5 separate regions of the Homo sapiens genome follow, and regions 1, 3, 4 and 5 are each linked to region 2. The links are contacts of gene promoters, found by promoter capture Hi-C in blood cells and fetal thymus (Javierre and others, 2016). All regions are on one chromosome and are shown on one strand. Each heading gives the region's core, a stretch centred on a gene start or on the middle of the fragment in contact. The rest is flanking DNA. Distances are from core to core; before and after follow the strand shown.

Region 1 (3,863 bases), core at 443-2,942, 510 kb before region 2:
TTAGCTGGGCACGGTGGTGGGCACCTGTAATCCCAGCTATTCAGGAGGCTGAGGCAGGAGAATCACTTGAACCCAGGAGGTGGAGGTTGCGGTGAGCCGAGATCGCGCCACTGCACTCTAGCCTGGGTGACAGAGCAAGAGTCTGTTTCAAAAAAAAAAAAAAAACTTCAGCCAGTGTTGTGGGTTAGAGGGCCCAGGTCCGTGGAGAGGTTATCACCAGCACTTCACTCACTCAGCAAAGATTTATTCAGTTTCACCTGTGAGCCAGATCTTGCCTAGGTGCTAAGGACATGGGGGTTAGAAAAACAGATGGGGTCGGTCTCTGTCCTCATGGAATGTACAGTGAAGATAGACATTAAGCAGATAATGGGAACAGCTGCAATAAGGGCAACGAAGGGGAAGTCCAGGTGCTGCCCGAGTGGGGGATTCAGGGTGTGTGGGGGGGGATTGTTACTAAAGACTTCCTCCAGACAGTGACATTTAAGGTGAGACAAGTGGGTGGGACTTAGCCAGGCCAAGACACGGAGGAAGAAGAGTGAGGCCGAGAGCATATTGAGTGGAAAAGCTTTGTGGGTGGAAGGAGCTTGATGTGCCCCAGAAGCTGAAGCCTTAGCTGCCTGGAGCACACCCCGGTCAGGCTATTCAGGGCCTTGAAAGCTGTGCGAGGGATTGGGGACTTTATCCTGGGGACAGTGGGATTTGCAACCACTGGTGGCATTTTAACCAATGGAGTAATATGGTTTGCATTTTCATCCAGTGACTTAAGTACTTTTGCATGCGTTCTTCTGTGGGATGGACCTGAAAGAATGGTCTGGACTTGAGGATCCCTGGAGAGCACAGTGAAGCTCAACGAAGAGTTCCAGTTGTTGGGTTGTGGTGAGGGAACCAGCAATGGAAGGTTTTGAAGAGGGGAATGACATGTCTGGGAGCAGCTCTGTGGTGGCTTTCAAAAGTTCTGGGGAAACTTGATCATGTAGCAGAAGGCAGCTGAGGAGGCGGTCCAGGCACTTAGGAGCACAGTGGCCTGGACTTCTTAGGTGAGAGGGGAGGTTGAGAGCTCGTGGTAGGTGTTGCAGGGACCCTAGAGCCAGAAAGCTGTGGACTGGTCTTCAGAGCTTGAGGGCCAAGGGAGCAGGAAGCCTTCACAGGAAAAGAAAGGTCTGAGTGAAAGTGACTGAAGAGAGGTGGGAAAGGGAAGGGAGAGGCCTCTGGTCTTGTTGTGCAAGGAGAGGGAGTGTCCAGGTATGTAGATGGGGTGTGAGCCTCTTTTAGAGAAGTAAGGGTTGGGCTCACTTGCAAGCACTCAGGAAGGACCGGAAGGAAGAAAGTGAAGATGCCGTCCCCATTGTGTCCCTCAGCGCCCAGAGGGTGTGTCGACCTGCTCCTCAGGCCAGGCCAGCCCAACACCTGTGACTAACATGACCTCAGAGTCTAAAATAATGTGTGCCACAGCTCTGAAGTCAGAAGGCTGATTTTTATAAATCAGCACAAATTGACCTTATTACCCATGGTCCTTCAGTGACCTCAGAAATCAAAGTGAAAAAAAAAAAAAAAAAAACCCAGCCCTAAACCTCTCTGGACCAAAGTTTTGCTCCTGAAGCAGGACCCCAAAATACTAGTGGCCTATTTTCTGCTGAAGTCTCTCTGTCCTCATGGTTCTGGAGAATGTCCTTTCAGTATCTTTATTCCTCCCCCATTTCACTGCAGATGTGCTCCAAGTTTCATGTTCCAGCAATCAGATGACCACGATGGAATATTCCCTGAGCTGGTGTTTCCAGTCTTTAGTCTAAGTTCTAAGACACTGAGCATTCCAAAACCCCTACTGTTCTGTTTCCCAGAACAGACCTTTCTTCCCTATTCTCCAGCACCCTCTGTTCCTTCCCCTTTCCTTTCCTTTTCTTTTTCTTTTTTCCTTCCTTCCTTCCTTCCTTCCTTCCTTCCTTCCTTCCTTCCTTCCTTCCTTCCTTCCTTCCTTCTTCCTTCTTTCCTTCCTTTTTTCTTTAATGGGAGTGAGGTCATTTGTGGAGCTGTCACTGCTCTGCAAGAGGGCAGGCATGAGGGGTGCCAGGCCCTCCTGACTTCTACCTTCTGATTTGTATGGTTTGTAAAATGAGCTGTATAAATGCCCAACATTTGATCAAACGAAACTGAAAGGATGATTGATGATGCGGGGATCAAACTTACCATTTGAATGTAGACCATTTTATTGGTAAAGATGAATGAGAATGATTTGGCCTGAAAGGGAACTTCAGATTTTTTTCCTAATTGAAGTAGTCACTTCTTTCAGAATGCTAAGTTCCCTGGAATATTTTCCCAGCCTACTGTGTCTATGATAGACTCAAATATTGGAAGTTTTACCGGCTGTGTGTGGGGTGGGGAAGGAATTCTGTTGGTTCTCCGGTGAGTCCTGAAGAGACCTTGTTTCTGGGTAAGTAGACCTAATCAGGGAGACTTAAATGTTTCTTGGGGGGGTTCTTCCAAACCATTTTGAGGATTTTCTTAAACTTCCAGAATTAGGAGGCCATTTATTAAGATAGTCTGAGGTATGGTGTCAGCCAACAAGGTGAGTTGGGATTTTAATCATGGTTTCAGTTTAAAGGCAAAGGTTTAATCATGTTTTCGGTTTAAAGATCATGCCGTTCAGTTAGCCCTTTGTTATGATCTAAAGGTGTTTGACAGCTTGAAATCCAAAAGGAGGTCAACTGAGGTATGGAGAGCTCCACATATTGGGCTAAAAGCCAGTCACATTTAGCATTTTGGAAAGTTATGTGAAAAATTGATATCGTCTGTTGTAAAACTGAAGCAATTGCCAAGCTTGTCCATTGTTCTTTTGCACTGAATTAACTCACTCTTAATAAAAGGACCGACACAGGGCCTTACACGGGTGGTCTTTGTGCAGGGCCCACCTGTGTATCTTGCTCTGATGGTTGTCTTTGCTCATAGCTCAATGATGCTGATTAAATGAGTTTAAGTGTGCTGGACAGTGTTGCACAAACTAGGCCATTTGTGTGTCTTTTCTCTTTCTCTTCCTTTGTAGATTATAAATTCAGCCTGTATTCTAACAAAAGATTTTCATTCCAGAATTTAAGGCAGTGTTCTTCTCTCAAAATGATATGCCTCACAGATGGTCTAGGGCAGCCAAGTGGATCACATAGCCCTTCGATCCTGGGAAGTGTCAGGCCTTCCAGTTTTTTTCTGACCATTCAGCCTTCACACTGGTTCCCTTCTAGTCTTGGACTGTTGAGGGGTAGAGTCCTAGTTGGTCCCAAATTGCCCCTTTCCTGGGGACCAGGGTGGGTAACAGTTGGGTTCTGGGCTCCTTGGTAGTTTCACTCCCTTCCTGTTTGCAACCATAGCAGAGCTTTGGATCATTCTGGAGGGACTTGAGTCCCCTGGATTCCTGAAAATGACCTAACCTTTTTGGATTCCTAGAACCAGACCTTCTGGCACTGGCCACAACAGATGGAAGCCAATTTTTCAGAGACCCAAAGGACAGACCAATCGTAGCCTGAATCCCAAGAGTTCAGTGGGAGACACACTGTATTCGTCTGTTCTCACACCGCTACGAAGAAATACCCGAGACTGGGTAATTTATAAATGAAAGAGGTTTCGACTCACAGTTCCACATTGTTTAGGAAACTTACAATCATGGCAGAAGACAAAGGAGAGGCAGGCACCTTCTTCCCAGGGGTCAGGAGGGACTGAGGGCCAGTAGGGGAAATGCCAGATGCTTATCAAACCATCAGATCTCATGAGAACTGACTATTACTAGAACAGCGTGGGGGAAACTGCCCCCATGATCCAATCACTTCTTACCAGGTCCCTCTCACGATGCGTGGGGGTTATGAGGATTACAATTCAAG
Region 2 (3,626 bases), core at 957-3,456:
ACCAAAGTGTTTATTTTCTCCAGAGGTGACAAAATCTGGAAAAAGAAACTAGATGAAGTCCCAAGTTCCTGGTTGAGCTCTAGGAATGAGATGGTGAGTTTCTTTATCTCACCTCCTAGTATTATTATTAAAATGTGAAATCTTACTTCATGAGTTAGTTTGACCTTTAACCACTTAGCTCTGGAGAGAATGCCGGGAGCTGTCTGCTAATTCTATTTCGTGGGTCTTCTTCATATCTTACTTCTGGAGATTATGTGTAGGATTTTAAAGATACACTGTTTCTAAATTGAGAAATGGGAGAAATGATGTTCTGATGCATTCCTTTGCTCATCTGTGAGCACTGCCTTCTCAAAGCGTTGCCAACTGCTTCACAGCTTGCCAGCAGTCCCTTGGGCATTTCCCAAAACTCACTTCAATTCAGTAAGAGGGGTAAGGTGCAGCACACAGAAACCCTGGCAGGGAATTCAGAATGGGTGGGAGTCTGGACCCAGTTTCGCCTGATGCTAACTTGCTATGACTGACCTTTAGCCAGTCCACTTCTGTGTCTTCATTTGCACCAGGAAAGAGTGGACTACGCTTGCTACTCAAAGTGTGACCCAAGGACCAGTACTATGGGTATCACCTGGAAGCTTGTTAGAGCCACAGGCCTCACCCCAGAGCTTATGAATCAGAATCTGCATGTTAACAAGATTCCCAGGGGATTTATATGCACATTAAAGTGTGAAAAGCCCTAGGTTAAACAGATTCTTGATCCTATTTATTTCTTTTTGGCTGTTGTTTTAATTGACAACTAAAAATTGTTTATTACTTACGTTGTACCGCATAATGTTTTGATATATGTGTACATTGTGGAATGGCTAAATCAAGCTATGCTAGGTAATATATGCATTACCTCGATCCTATGATTTAAAAATACATGTTTGGCCAGGCGCAGTGGCTCATACCTGTAATCCTAGCACTTTGGGAGGCCGAGGCGGGCGATCACCTGAGGTCAGGAGTTCGAGACCAGCCTGGCCAAAATAGTCAAACCCTGTCTCTACTAAAAATACAAAAATTAGCTGGGTGCGGTGGCACGTGTCTGTAATTCCCGCTACTCGGGAGGCTAAGGCAGGAGAATCACTTGAACCCGGGAAGCAGAGGTTGCAGTGAGCCGAGATCATGCCTTTGCACTCCACCTGGGGGACAGCGAGACTCTGTCTCAAAAGATAAAAATAAATAAATAATACATGTTAACAACCCTCATTCCCCACTCTCCCCAGGGGTGTACAGGCTAGTGACAAGACTTGGGTTTATTCCTGACACTGCACGCACTCAATCTACGACTTGCTCAAGCTGCTTCCTCTCTCCAAGCATCAAAACAAAGAGATGGTTCTCTGGATCAATGAGAATGTAGTTCACCAGCCACTCTAAGCTGACTTTCTATTATTCCCATTATAGGGAAATCAAACATTCAAGTGAGGAACAAAAGCCCAGGCCTCTAGGAGTGGAGCTGGCTCACTGTTTTCACTTTCATTTTAATTATTTTTAAAAAGGGTAATGAAAATATAATTAGAACTGTTTAAACATTTTTTTTTTCTTTGAAATAAAGCGTAAGTCACTTCCTGTTGGCTTTTCCTACAACCTTGCCAAGCTCTGGAAATACTATTCAGCCTCTCATTCCAAATTCACATCCAGGCGAAGACTTTTCTCCCCAGTTCGCAGCTGGGGTCGGCTAGATAAACAAAAAGTTAGTTGCTGTGCTGGACCTCGGAGAGACCACACCTCGGGACGCCAGCAGAAAACCAGCGCTGGGAAACGCCCCCGTCCCAGCGCCACCGAAACACTCTTCCTCCGAGTCTCCGCGTCCTCCTGACGGAAGCAGCGGAAGGCGGAGCTAGTGCCGCGAATAGGAACCGCCATGTTTCCGACGTGCTCTAGTTTCTCGCCGGACGCTAAAGACCGACGCACAAATTAAGAATGGACCATTCTTTTAACTCAGTCATTTATCCAAACTCGAGACATTCGCCAGGAAATCTATCGAAAATTTCCCAGAACCATTTTTTCACTTATATTCTATAATACTGGTAAAATCGAGACGTAAAAGGAGAACTTGAGAACAAGTCATTCTGCTTTCCCCTCTCAAGTTTGAGCCTGAACTACTTGGGCTCGCTTATCGTCACTTCCGGGGATCGAACTGTGAATCCCGGAAACTGCACGCGCCGAGCCGGGAAGCTTCGTCCAGCGGTCGTGTTGCCATGGGCCGGAGGAGAGCCCCGGCCGGTGGGTCGCTGGGACGGGCCCTTATGCGCCATCAGACTCAGCGGAGCCGAAGCCATCGTCACACTGACTCCTGGGTAAGACAGACCATGTCATCTTTCTTATCTTTTCTGTCTAGCCTGAGTGCTGCAAAATTCGGGGTCAAAAGTCAGATAAGTTTTGCAGGAGGGACGCCTCAGCCGGGTTTTGAAGGATGAGTTGGAGTTTCTGCCAAGCTGAGTAGCAGGCCCTCCTCCTGGCAAGGCCCAGAACACAAAGGTAGGAGAAGCTTGAAAGAAGAGTTAGTGTGGTGATGAGGCGTGGAGTGAGAATCTGAAGAGTCTTCAATGCCAGGTCTTGAGTACGTTTGGGTTTTGCCCTAGAAGCCACTGAAGTGCTTGGAACTTCCAGAGCAGGAAAAAGACAAAACGTATTTTTGTATTGATTTGTTCAAAGAATGGATCCTCCAGAAGCGGTTGGTTACTGCCAGAAATATAAAATAATTCAGATCCTTGCCTCATCCTTGCGAAGCACCCCCTAGTGGTTTAGCTCAAAGATAAATCATTGATTTTTCAGGTGTGACAAGACCTAATATTTTACTAGGTTATAGAAGGATCTTTAAAAAAATGAATGAAGTGATTTGGCTTGTGTTCATCATTCTAGTCGTTATTTTCACCATTCATTCCCCCGGGAATGAATGAGAACATGTTGAGTGCTAAGATCGTGTGCTAAATTTAGTTAAATATGTCCCTGGAGCTAAGTAAGCGTGTGCCACTGTCACACCAGCTGACTTTCATCCATATAGTCTGCAGAGTAAACAGCATGGAGTGCTTATCAGTATTCATCAGGTCAGAGTTACTCTGGACATTAGATTACTGGTAATTTTTATTAGCTTTGAAGCAACTTGTTACTAATGAAGCCTTTTAGGAAACTGTGGGAAGATTGAACATGAATGGTAAAGAATTGGATCCTAATTCCTTATTTTTGCTGATTCTATGCCCACTTAAACTTTTGGCCCTTAATATTTATTTAGGAAATTCATTCATCATTCAGTTATTCATTTTTAGAGACAGGGTCACACTCTGTCACCCAGGCTAGAGTGCCAGTGGTGTGATCATAACTCACCAATTCACTACAGTCTCAAACTTCTGGGCACAAATAATCCCCCTGCCTCAGTCTCTTGAGTAGCTGGCATTACAGGTGCACACCATCAGGCCTGGTTGTTTGGTTTTGTTTGTTTGTTTTGGAGAGACAGGGTCTTGCTGTGTTGCCCAAGCTGATCACAAACTCCTGGCCTCAAGCAATCCTCCTGCCTTAGCCTCTTGAGGAGCTGGGGTTACAGGCACAAACCACCACGCCTGGCAATTTTTTTTTATTTGTATCTATACTAA
Region 3 (3,487 bases), core at 274-2,773, 840 kb before region 2:
CACCAAGTATGTGCTCAGGAATTTTGCTGGGGAATGAATGCACATTGAAAAGGTAAATAAAAAGTGGTTCTTAGAACAAAGATATATAATCACTGTGACAAAAAGCAAAATATATATAAAAGAGGTAGAACAGAAGAATCACGATGTCTATTGCTTACATGTCTTACATGTCTTATGTATATCATAAACATCATGTTCGAAACTGAGTTTTTTTCCTCCAAACTGTTCTTTTTTTTTTTTTCCTGAGACAGAATCTTGCTCTGTTGCCCAGCTGGAGTGCAGTGGCAGGATCTCGGCTCACTGCAACCTCTACCTCCCTGGTTCAAGGAATTCCCCTGCTTCAGCCTCCCAAGTAGCTGGAATTACAGTGCAAGCCACCACGCCTGGCTAATTTTTTTGTATTTTTTAGTAGGGACGGGGTTTCACCATGTTAGTCAGACTGGTCTCAAACTCCTGAGCTCAGGCAATCTGCCTGCCTCGGCCTCCCAGAGTGCTGAGATTACAGGTGTGAGCCACCACACCCGGCCCCTCCCAACTATTCTTAATAGCTCTATCCCCCACTCCAAACACTCTCCCAAAATCAATAACTGAGCACCACATTGTCTACCTTGATTCATTTCTTTCTCTCAAATACTCAAATCCAGTCCATACCTTCATCATGTATCTAAATCTCTCACCATCTTCAGTCTCTACTGTAGATACCTTAGTCAAGCCATCATACTTTTTAAAAAACTTTTTAAGAGGCAGAGTCTTGCTCGGTTGCCCGTGCTGGAGTATAGTGGCACATTTATAACTCACTGCATCCTAAAACTCATGGACTCAATTGATCCTCTCACCTCAGCCTCCCAAGTGGCTAGGACTATAGGGATGTGCCACTATGCCTAGCTAATTTTAAAACATTTTGTAGAGAGGGGGTTTTGCTAGGTTACCCAGGCTGGTCTTGAACTCCTAGCTTCAAGTGATCCTCCTGCGACAGCTTTCCAAAGTGCTGGGATTACAGGAATGAGCCACTGCACCCAGCTTTCCAGTCCTTTTTTTTTTTTTTTTTTGAGACGGAGTCTCGCTCTGTCCCCCAGGCTGGAGTGCAATGGTGTGATCTCAGCTCACTGCAACTTTGCCTCCCGGGTTCACGCCATTCTCCTACCTCAGCCTCCCGAGTAGCTGCGACTACAGGCGCCCGGCTAATTTTTTTTTTTTTTTGTATTTTTAGTAGAGACGGGGTTTCACCATGTTAGCCAGGATGGTCTCGATCTGACCTCATGATCCGCCCGCCTGAGCCTCCCAAGGTGCTGGGATTACAGGCGTGAGCCCCCACGCCCAGCCTCCAGTCCATTTTTTAAAAAGCAGTAAGTGTTGCTGTCCTACTTAAAGCCTTTCAGCAATTTCTCTACCATCCTTAAGAATGAGTCCAGGTGTCTTAGACTGACTGACAAAACTTTGTACTGGCTCCCACATACCTGTTCAAATTTTTTGTGCCACTCCTACTTAATTATTTCAGTCATTAGAAATTTTGTTTTGGTTTTTTATTCAGTTTGTACAGTTTACTAAGTTTCTCTTCTCTGTTAGGGCCTAGATACTAGCAAGCCCCTCTGCTGGAAATGCTCTTTACTAATTTTTCATGCAACTTTTCTGCTCATTCTTAGGTTCAAACGTAACTCCCCCAGAGGTGCTATTTCCTGCCTATTCCATGTAAAAAAGATGTCTTTCCTATGGTTCTCAGACTGTTTCCTCAACTTGTTGGTTTATTTGCTTGTTGCCTGGTTTCCTCACTAAATAAAAAGCTCCATGAAGACAGGAGCTCTTTCCCTTACTACAGTATTCTCAGAGCTTGGTATGGGCCAGCTCAATAGAACTCTCAACAAGTATGGCCAGAGTGAATAAAAGGATGATACCTGCTCATAATGTGATTCACCTTTTCCTTTCTATTAATGTTTCCTCATGTTTCATGTTTGAATATTAGAACCAGAAAGAAACCAAAAATCAGCTAATTTCCTTAGAAACCAGAAAGAAACCAGAAATAACTAATTTCCTTAATTTTTAGAGGCAAGCAAAGGGAAGTCAATATTACTCAACTGGTTCTTGGCAGAGGAGAGACTAGAATACAGTTACCCTGACTCTTCATTTTCACAATAAATCTCTCCTTGGACTGAACCACTGTGGCCCTGTCTCGCTTTGGTGGTTATCTTTTTTCCAGAGTGGAGAGTATTAAGAATTAACACATTCAGGATAATCTGAAAACAAGCTCTTACACTGAAGTAAAATTTCTCAAATCAGCTGAGGCCTTGTACCAAAACTCCAGCTTGTAAGCATTTTTGGAAATCTTGCTAGAGAGTGGTGCATTTTCCAATATTCAAAAACCAAACATAATCTTTACTCATTGACTCCAGCTTGTTCTTATGATGAACATTGATTATTGTTATATATATATATATATATATTTTTTTTTTTTTTTTTTTTTTTGAGACGGCGTCTCACTCTGTCGCCCAGGCTGGAGTGCAGTGGCGCGATCTCAGCTCACTGCAGCCTCCACCTCCTGGGCTCAAGCGATCCTCTCGCCTCAGCCCCCCAGTAACTGAGACTACAGGAATGTGCCATCATGCCCAGCTAATTTTTTTTTTTTTTTTTTTTGTATTTTTGGTGGGGATGGGGTTTCACCATGTTGCCCAGGCTGGTCTCAAACTCCTGAGCTCAAGCGATCTGCCCACCTCGGCCTCCGGCCTCCCAAAGTGCTGGGATTACAGGCACAAGTCACCATGCCTAACCCAGAACACTGATTATTATACTATCTGAAATACAGTCTTGTCCTCAAGAACCCATTGAAGGGATTCTTCCTGAGCTTTAACATGCTGGGCTTTTTCAACAGTAAGACATCTGAGGATCATTACCAGCTTAATGTGTGTGGGCTTTGTGACTGTTTTCCTTGATACCAAGAGGCTTCTTTTCATTTCGAGCCTCCTGTCTGTGTTTCTGGATGTTAGAAATTGCCAAAAATCTCTGACTAGGGTGAAGGGGTTGTTACTGAAATGTAATACCTCTTGAATGGTGACCAGCCCTGTTTCATGAACTCATTTAACACTTTTGGAAAAGATAGCAGTTCTCCACTTTTGTGCTCCAACTAGAACATGAGTCAAAGAAAGTTTTGTGATTTTTTTAAAATAAGCTTTATTTTTTAGAGCAGTTTTAGCTTCACAGCAAAACTGAGAGAAAACTACACAGATTTCTTATGTACCATCTGCCCTCACACATACATAACCTCCCCCATAACCAATATCCCCCACAAAGTGGTACATTTGTTATAATCAATGAACCTACAATGACACTGACCCAAAGTCCATAGTTTACATTTGGGTTCACTCTGGGTATACTACATTCTATGGGTTTGGACAAATGCATAATGATGTGTATCTACCACTGTGATGTCATACAGAGGAGCTGCGCTATATCTACCACTGTGATATACAGAGGAGCTTCACTATATCTACCACTG
Region 4 (3,885 bases), core at 1,229-3,728, 530 kb before region 2:
TGATACAAGGGGATCTCAGCACAGAGAGAGCTGTGAAGTGCCAAGGAGGCGGCACCTTTGGCTAAGGAATTTGGGGAAGGCTTTGAGGAGGATGTGGTATTTGAGCAAGGCTATCTTTTTTCCATAGAGTGTACACCTCTTGTACAAGGTAGAACATCTTGCACATAACAGAAGGCCTGTCTGTCGGTCCCACTTTCCAAGGTGAGTAGAATAAAGTCACTGTTTTCCTGTTGCCTGAGAACCTCCAAACCCTCTGTTGAAGAAGGGCAGGGCTGGCTGTTTCCTGGAGCCCTCCTGCCCAGCCAGACGTGTGGCATCTCTGATGTAGCTGAGTCTCCCGGGCCTGGTGGCCTCCATCTGCAGTGCCACCAACTGTGTGTGGGGCTGCTTTGCACACCATATGCTGATTAGGGAGCAACAACATGGGACCTGCAGGCCCGATGCCCCAGGCGCTCCTCAGACCCGCGAGCCATCCCACAGTCTGCCCGGGGCAGCTCCTCACCTGCCCTCGTGGCTCTTCCAGGCTGGCTCAGCCTGTGGTAGAAGGGTCTGAAGACCCAGGTTAAAGCCTTGTTTCTCTCTCTTACTGATGGCGAGGCACTGAACATCCTCCGTGGGCCTTTTTTTTTCCCCCTCCACCTTTTATTATGGAAAATTTCAAATATCCACAGAAGGAGAGAGGAGAGCATAATGAATGCCTGTGTACTCATCACCGGCTTCAGTAGTTACCAACTCATGGCCTGCCCCTTTTCATCTCGACTCCCACCCATCGCCTTCTCCCCCAGAAGCAAATACCAGATCTTATTTTATTTTTAAATATTTTGATAAGTCTCTCTAACAGAAAAGTACTTTTTTTTTTTGAGACGGAGTCTTGCTCTGTCACCCAGGCTGGAGTGCAATGGCCAAATCTTTCACTGCAACCTCTGCCTTCCAGGTTCAAGTGACTCTCCTGCCTCAGCCTCCTGAGTAGCTGGGATTACAGGCACGTGCCACCACGCCCGGCTAATTTTTGTATTTTTAGTAGAGATGGGGTTTCACCATGTTGCTTAGGCTGGTCCTGAACTCCTGACCTCAAGTGATCCTCCCACCGCGACCTCCCAAAGTGCTGGGATTGCAGGTGTGAGCCACCGCAACTGGCTGGAAAGTACTATTTGTATTAAATGCGCTATTTTTATTACATTTAGCAAAACTAACAATAAATAATCACCTTATTGCCATCTAGTATCCATGCAGGATTCACATTCTTGAATTGACTACATGTTTCATTTGGTTGACTCTTGAGTCTTTCCCATTCTCTCTTTCAAAATTAAACTTTAGGCCGTGCGTGGTGGCTCACGCCTGTAATCGTAGCACTTCGGGAGGCCGAGGCGGGTGGATCACGAGATCAGGAGATTGACACCATCCTGGCTAACACAGTGAAGCCCCGTCTCTACTAAAAATACAAAAAATTAGCTGGGCGTGGTGGTGGGGGCCTGTAGTCCCAGCTACTCGGAGAATGGTGTGAACCCGGGAGGCAGAGCTTGCAGTGAGCTGAGATCGTGCCACTGCACTCCAGGCTGGGTGACAGAGTGAGACTCCCTCTCAAAAAAAAAAAAAAAAAAAAATTAAACTTTAAATTTTAAGATAATTGTAGATTACCATGAGGTTGTAAGAAGCAATACAGAGATCCTTTACCCACTTTCCCCCAGTGGTAACATCTTGCAAAAACTATAGCAAATACAACAACCAGGATATTGTTTTTGTTGTTGTTGTCTGTTAGTTTTGAGACAGAGCCTTGCTGTGTTGCCCAGGCTGGAGTGCAGTGGCACGATCTCGGCTGACTGCAACCTTCACCTCCTGGGTTCAAGCGATTCTCCTGCCTCAGCCTCCCGAGTAGCTGATATTACAGTCGCCTGCCACCACATTTGGCTAATTTTTGTATTTTTAGTAGAGACAGGGTTTTATCATGTTACCCAGGCTGGTTTTGAACTCGTGACCTTGGGTAATTCACCCGCCTCGGCCTCCCACAGTGCTGGGATTCCAGGCATGAGCTACCGTGCCCGGCCAGGATAGTGACTTTGATACCATCAAGCTGAGAACGTTTATCCCCACAAAGATCCTTCGTGCTGCCTTTTACAGCCACACCCACCTCCTCTGACCCGTAGCAACCACTAATTTCCTCCTTCATTTCTGTATTTCAAGAATGTGTATCAATGGAATCCTAAAGTATGTAACCTTTTGAGATAGGCCTTTTTTCTCAACATAATCCTCAAGAGGTTCATTCCAGTTGTTGCGTGTCAGTAATTCACTTTTTAATTGCTGAGTCGTATTTCATCATGCGAATATACCAGTTTGCTTAACCATCCATTTAAGGACAGCTTGGTTGTCCCCAGTTTGCGGCTAGTATGCATAAAGCTGCATTTTGTTGTATGGACATAAATTTTTATTTCTCTGATATAAATGCCTGAAAGTACAGTAGCTGGGTCTTTTGGTAGTTACTTGTTTCATTTTATAAAAAATTGGCAGACTTTTCCAGAGTTTGGCGATTTGCCAGAGTTTGGCAGACTTTTCCAGAGTTTGGCAAAATCCCAACAGCAATGTTTGAGTGTTTCTCAAGTCCCTTCTAAACCAGAGGTCCTCTCTCCCTCCACCTCTATTTTCTGACTTCGCAACTGGGGAGGAAAATTTGTGCTCTGATGATCTTGCGTGATTGGGATTATCTTGCATGTGAAACTGCTTTATAAACTGTCCCCAGCTGGGTCTATTAGTGCTTCCTTTTTGTGGGTGTATCTGAAAACAGTGTCACAGAATCTTAGCGGAGGGCTGTAGACATTTATTCACTGTCTGCCCCTGCGTTTCCTAGCCTGGCTGGATTCTGCAGGGCTGCTGGGTCATGAGGGTTGCCACAGGTCAAGCGTGTTAATGAAGTTCGTCTTGGCTTCTGCAGCACATTGCGGGTTGTGGGTAGTGAGATACTTGAGTTGCCTGAGCAACCCATGAAGACCACAGTCCCTGCACAGACCAGGCTTCGGCACGGCCACTGTGGCTGCCAGGACTGGTCTTCTGGGCCACCTTGTCATTCATCCCTGACCTGGCTGGCTGGCTGGCCAGCAGTTCAGACTGGAACACGAAGATGCCACTGAGAGAGAGAGAGAGAGAGAGAGAGAGAGTGAGAGAGTGAGTGTGTGTGTGTGCGTGTGTGTGTCAGGGAGAGAGAAAGCGAGGACCTTTTAGCCACAGACCCATGCCAGCTTTGCTTAAGATGATGGTAGTTTTCTCTCTCTCTCTCTCTTTTTTTTTTTTTTGAGACAGAGTCTTGCTCTGTCGCCAGGCTGGAGTGCAGTGGTGCAATCTCAGCTCACTGCAACCTCTGCCTCCTGGGTTCAAGCGAGTTTTCTGCCTCAGCCTCCCAAGTAGCTGGGACTACAGGCGTCTGCCACCACGTCCGGCTAATCTTTGTATGTTTAGTAGAGATGGGGTTTCATCATCCTGGCCAGGCTGGTCTCGCACTCCTGACCTCATGATCCACCTGCCTCAGCCTCCCAAAATGCTGGGATTCCAGGCGTGAGCCACTGTGCCCGGCCAATGATAGTTTTCTCTAACACTATGTGTGGTGAATTCTAAGCTCTATTAGAAGCAAAAACCTGAGGCTTTTTAAAAGCACTTGCCTCGCCGCCTCCTTTAGGGCTGTGTCTGACATGACCGTCATTTCCTCAGTTGGTTATCAGCCTTTCTTCTCCCTTGCTGAGCTGTCAACTGATGCCCCCACCTTCGTCTCAGCCTCTGTTCCGGGGGCTGACTTGACTAATGTGTCCCCAAGTTGCTTGATGACCTCAGACAAGAAGCACAGCAGTGCCTGGCCTCACAGCCCCATCAGCATGGAGGATGACAGTCCCAGCACACTGC
Region 5 (3,584 bases), core at 1,046-3,545, 560 kb before region 2:
CCCTGGTCTGGGCAAAGGACCCCAGAGTATGACAGGTGCCAGCCCATCCTTGGGAAGGTTAGTTTGCAAACCTGTTTTAGTCTTTGGGAGGCCTGGGTATTTTGATTCACACTTGCAGGGTCTGTGATTTGCCTCTTGCTGCATAAAGTCTATTCCATGAAGCATACTCATTTATCTTTAAGCAGATTTATTATATGAAATATTCATGGGTGCAGGCTTGGCAGCACAGCGTCTGGAACAATGTACTGAGTACAGTTTGTCCTCAGAAGTCTATTCATGCTGATGGGATGCAGTTGTCTCCTGTGAAGCTTTGGGGTGAGATGGGGCCAGTAGGGAGTGAGCTGGCTGAGGATAGCTCTTCATCTCCCTTAGTTTGGCTGCAGCAGCCCTGCTCTGCGTGTATGCCTGCGCAGATCCGTTCTTTCTCTTCCTGCTTAGTGAACACAGAGGCCTTCCCTTCTGCGAGAACCCTCTTGTCAGCTTCCAGCTTCCTGTGTAATTCGAACGGATAGGGATGATTTGGAGGGAGGGAAAAGCTGGCTTAGGAGTGAAAACTGATCTGTGGGGAGAAGGCATTTCGGGGACTGGGAGGAGGTTTGGTGCTAACACTTAGGAGTAAGCACAGTGTGGCAACCCCCGGGCTCAATGTGTGTTCCACATGGCCCTGACAGACACCACAGGAAGCATGTGGTGACAGTCCTGTATTACCCACGAAGAAACTGGGGCTCAGAGAGGTTTAGTTACTTGCCCAAAGTGCAGTTCACTTAGTTTAGCAAACCTGTATGGATGTATGGGTGGCCTGTCATGTGGCCAGTGGCTGGATACAGGGCACAGAGCAGTCACGGCCTCTGCCTACGAGGAGTGCCCCATGCAGCCGATAGAGAAACAGAGCCCTGAAAAGTGAGTCAGACAGGGTGAGTGGAGCCCCCATGCGATGCAGGGTGTTAGGAAGGGCCTGGTGAATTGTGGGAGGCTGTGGGAAGGCTGGAGGGGAGGATTGGAAAACTGGATAGGATCTTACCAGGCAGATGGGGGCTGGGAGAGGTAATTACAGACGGTGGGAAGAGCAAGTACAGGCATGCAAGGATGTAGGTCATCCAGGTGTGGCCAGTAGACGGGAGACTGCCTGGTTCAGTGCTGCCCAGTCACACGAGGCGGGGAGGTCGGGGGACGGGGCCAGAACCACTATTGCAGCGGCTTAGAGGCCTTGCTAGAGGATTCGGACTGTAACTAAGGGAGCGACGAGTCGTCGGAGGTCTTGAAGCCAGGGAGAGAGAAAAACGAATTTCTCTATTTGGAAAACAATTCTGGAGGTATAACAGAATGGGGCAGTGGGGAAGGTAGGAGGTAGGGAAACCTGTCAGAGAGGTCGCAGGGGCAGGGGTGAGAGGAAGCGGAGGGGTGTGGGAATGAGAAACATAATTTGAGATTTCTGTTGGAAAATAGCAGGAACTGGTCTGGATTCTGTGTCTGGAAAAAAGTATTAAAAACAAACAAACAACAAACAAACCAGTAGCCAGAAAAGGATAAAGGAAACGGTACCTTAGAAGAGAAGCATGAAGACATTTTTAAAAAGGCTTTTATAATGAGGCAGAAGATTTAAAGTGTTACATAAAACAAGTTTTAGGGAATGAGGAGGACCAATGTGGCATAAAAGGTTTTTATGGTTAGGCTGGAGGTGGAGCAAGGTGGCCAAACAGAAGCCTCCACCAACCATCCTCCTCACAAGAACACCAAATTTGACAACGATCTACACCAAAAAAGCACCTTCGTGGGCACTAAAAATCAGGTGAGCGATCACAGTACCTGGTTTTAACTTCATATTACCGAAAGAAGCACTGCAGAGGGTAGGAAAGACAGTCTTGATCACTGACTCCATCCCTGTGGCGGTGGCCACATGGTGCTCAGAGAGAACCTGTGTGACGGGGAAAGGAGAGTGCAGCAGTTGTGGGACTTTGCATTGGAACTCATTGCTGCCAGCAGTGGGTAGAACTCAGCCGATGCCCACGGAGGGAGCATTTAGACCAGCCTAGACAGAGGAGAATCACCCATCTCAGCAGTCAGAACTTGAGTTCCAGCAAGCCTTGTTACCATAGGTTAAAGTGTTCTGGGTTCTAAATAAACCAGGCCACAAGGACTGCAACACCCAGGTGAGTCCTAGTGCTGTGCTGGGCTCAGAGCCAGTGGACTTGGGGGTTACATGACCTAATGAGACACCAGCCAGGGTGGCTCAGGGAGCACTTGCATCCCCTATCCCCCAAACCCAGGCAGCGCAGCTCACAGCTCCAAAAGAGACCCCCTCCTTCTGTTAGAGGAGAGGAGAGTAAAGAGGACTTTGTCATGCAACTTGGGTACCAGCTCAGTCACGGTAGGATAAGGCACCAGGCAGAGTCATGAGGCCCCCATTCCATGCCCTAGATCTTAGATGACATTTCTAGACACCCTGGGCCAGAAGGGAGCCTACTGCCCTGAAGGGAAGGACCCAGTAATGGCAGGAATCATCACCTGCTGACGAAAGAGCCCCTGGACCCTGAATAATCAGCAGTGGTAACCAGGTAGTACATACCATGGGCCTTGGGTGAGACTCTGAGACCTGCTGGCTTCAGATGGGATCCAGCACATTCACAGCTGTGGTGGTTAACGAGGAGAGACTCCTTCTGCTTGAGTAAAGGAGAGGGAAGAATAAAGGGGACTGTGTCTCGCAGCTTAGATACCAGCTCAGACATAGGGGGAGCACCAACTGGGCCCTTGGGGTCCCCAGTTCCAGGCCTTGGCTCTGGGATAGCATTTCTGGACCTACCCCAGGCCAGAGGGGAGCTCACTGCCCTGAAGAGAGTCCCAGGACTGGCAGCATTCACCACAAGCTGACTAAAGAGTCCTTGGGCATTAAGTGAACATTGGTGGCGCTCTGGCAGCACTCCCCATGGGCCTGTGGTGGTACTGGACACAGGGAGAGAGTCCTCTGCCTGGAGAAAGAGGAGGGAAGAGTGGGAAGGACTTTATCTTGTGGTTTTGTTGCCAGCTTAACCGCAGTAGAATAGAGCACCAGGCAGATTTCTAGGGCTTCCGATTGCAGGCCCTGGCTCACAGATAGCATCTCTGGACCTGCCTGGGGCCCAAGAGAACTCACTGCCCTTAAGGGAAGGACACAAGCCTGGCAGTCTTTGCCACCTGCTAATTGTAGGGCCCTAGGGCCTTGATTGAACATAGAGAGTAGTCAGCTAGTGGTTATAGCAGGCCTCGGGCAAAACTCAGTGGTGTGCTGGCTTCAGATCTGACCAAGTGCAGTCCCAGTGGTGATAGTGACAGGGGTGTCACCCCTCCCCAATCTCCAGGCAGCCCAGCCAGGTGTATATCTCTATGTCTATGTCTATGTCTATGTCTATGTCTATGTCTATGTCTATGTCTATGTCTATGTCTATATATTTATAGATATATAGAGAGATTGCATTCATCTGGGAGATAGGGAAGAGAACAAGTAATTCGGAGAATTCTTCCAGATGTGATCTAAGACCATCAAGGTGGTGCATCTACAAATCTGCAAGAACCACGGCATTGCTGGGCTTGGTATGCCCCCTAATGCA

Evidence for each region. Contacts are between HindIII fragments. The CHiCAGO score rates a contact against its expected background, and 5 or more counts as called.
Region 1: a contact is called between a fragment that was not itself captured here and the fragment with the promoter of LSG1 in region 2, in 3 of 17 cell types (endothelial precursors, erythroblasts and megakaryocytes). The highest score is 6.4, in endothelial precursors.
Region 3: a fragment that was not itself captured here is called in contact with the fragment with the promoter of LSG1 in region 2 in 3 of 17 cell types (total CD8 T cells, naive CD4 T cells and M0 macrophages); the score reaches 8.4 in total CD8 T cells.
Region 4: a fragment that was not itself captured here is called in contact with the fragment with the promoter of LSG1 in region 2 in 4 of 17 cell types (M0 macrophages, megakaryocytes, M1 macrophages and 1 more); the score reaches 5.9 in M0 macrophages.
Region 5: a contact is called between a fragment that was not itself captured here and the fragment with the promoter of LSG1 in region 2, in 3 of 17 cell types (M0 macrophages, endothelial precursors and M1 macrophages). The highest score is 7.2, in M0 macrophages.

The regions. Positions count from the first base shown.
Region 1 is chr3:195,183,199-195,187,061 of GRCh38, reverse strand. The region is part of intron 2 of XXYLT1 (xyloside xylosyltransferase 1); the gene reads left to right. Among named protein-coding and RNA genes, the nearest start is that of XXYLT1-AS2, 37 kb to the right of the region's middle. RefSeq lists an enhancer at 1,625-2,824. The HindIII fragment of the contact is 2,249 bases long and covers 568-2,816 here.
Region 2 is chr3:194,670,771-194,674,396 of GRCh38, reverse strand. It overlaps LSG1 (large 60S subunit nuclear export GTPase 1), which reads left to right and starts at 2,206. Exons shown (of 14, transcript NM_018385.3): 1 at 2,206-2,333. The coding sequence starts at 2,235. LOC124909474 reads left to right here. Exons shown (of 3, transcript XM_047449428.1): 3 at 1-733. The HindIII fragment of the contact is 1,582 bases long and covers 632-2,213 here.
Region 3 is chr3:195,506,982-195,510,468 of GRCh38, reverse strand. No RefSeq gene overlaps it. Among named protein-coding and RNA genes, the nearest start is that of PPP1R2, 35 kb to the left of the region's middle. The HindIII fragment of the contact is 3,279 bases long and covers 1-3,162 here.
Region 4 is chr3:195,203,741-195,207,625 of GRCh38, reverse strand. All of the region lies in intron 2 of XXYLT1 (xyloside xylosyltransferase 1), which reads left to right. Among named protein-coding and RNA genes, the nearest start is that of XXYLT1-AS2, 58 kb to the right of the region's middle. RefSeq lists enhancers at 1-400, 401-928. The HindIII fragment of the contact is 5,212 bases long and covers 1-3,885 here.
Region 5 is chr3:195,235,730-195,239,313 of GRCh38, reverse strand. All of the region lies in intron 1 of XXYLT1 (xyloside xylosyltransferase 1), which reads left to right. Among named protein-coding and RNA genes, the nearest start is that of XXYLT1, 34 kb to the left of the region's middle. The HindIII fragment of the contact is 3,969 bases long and covers 311-3,584 here.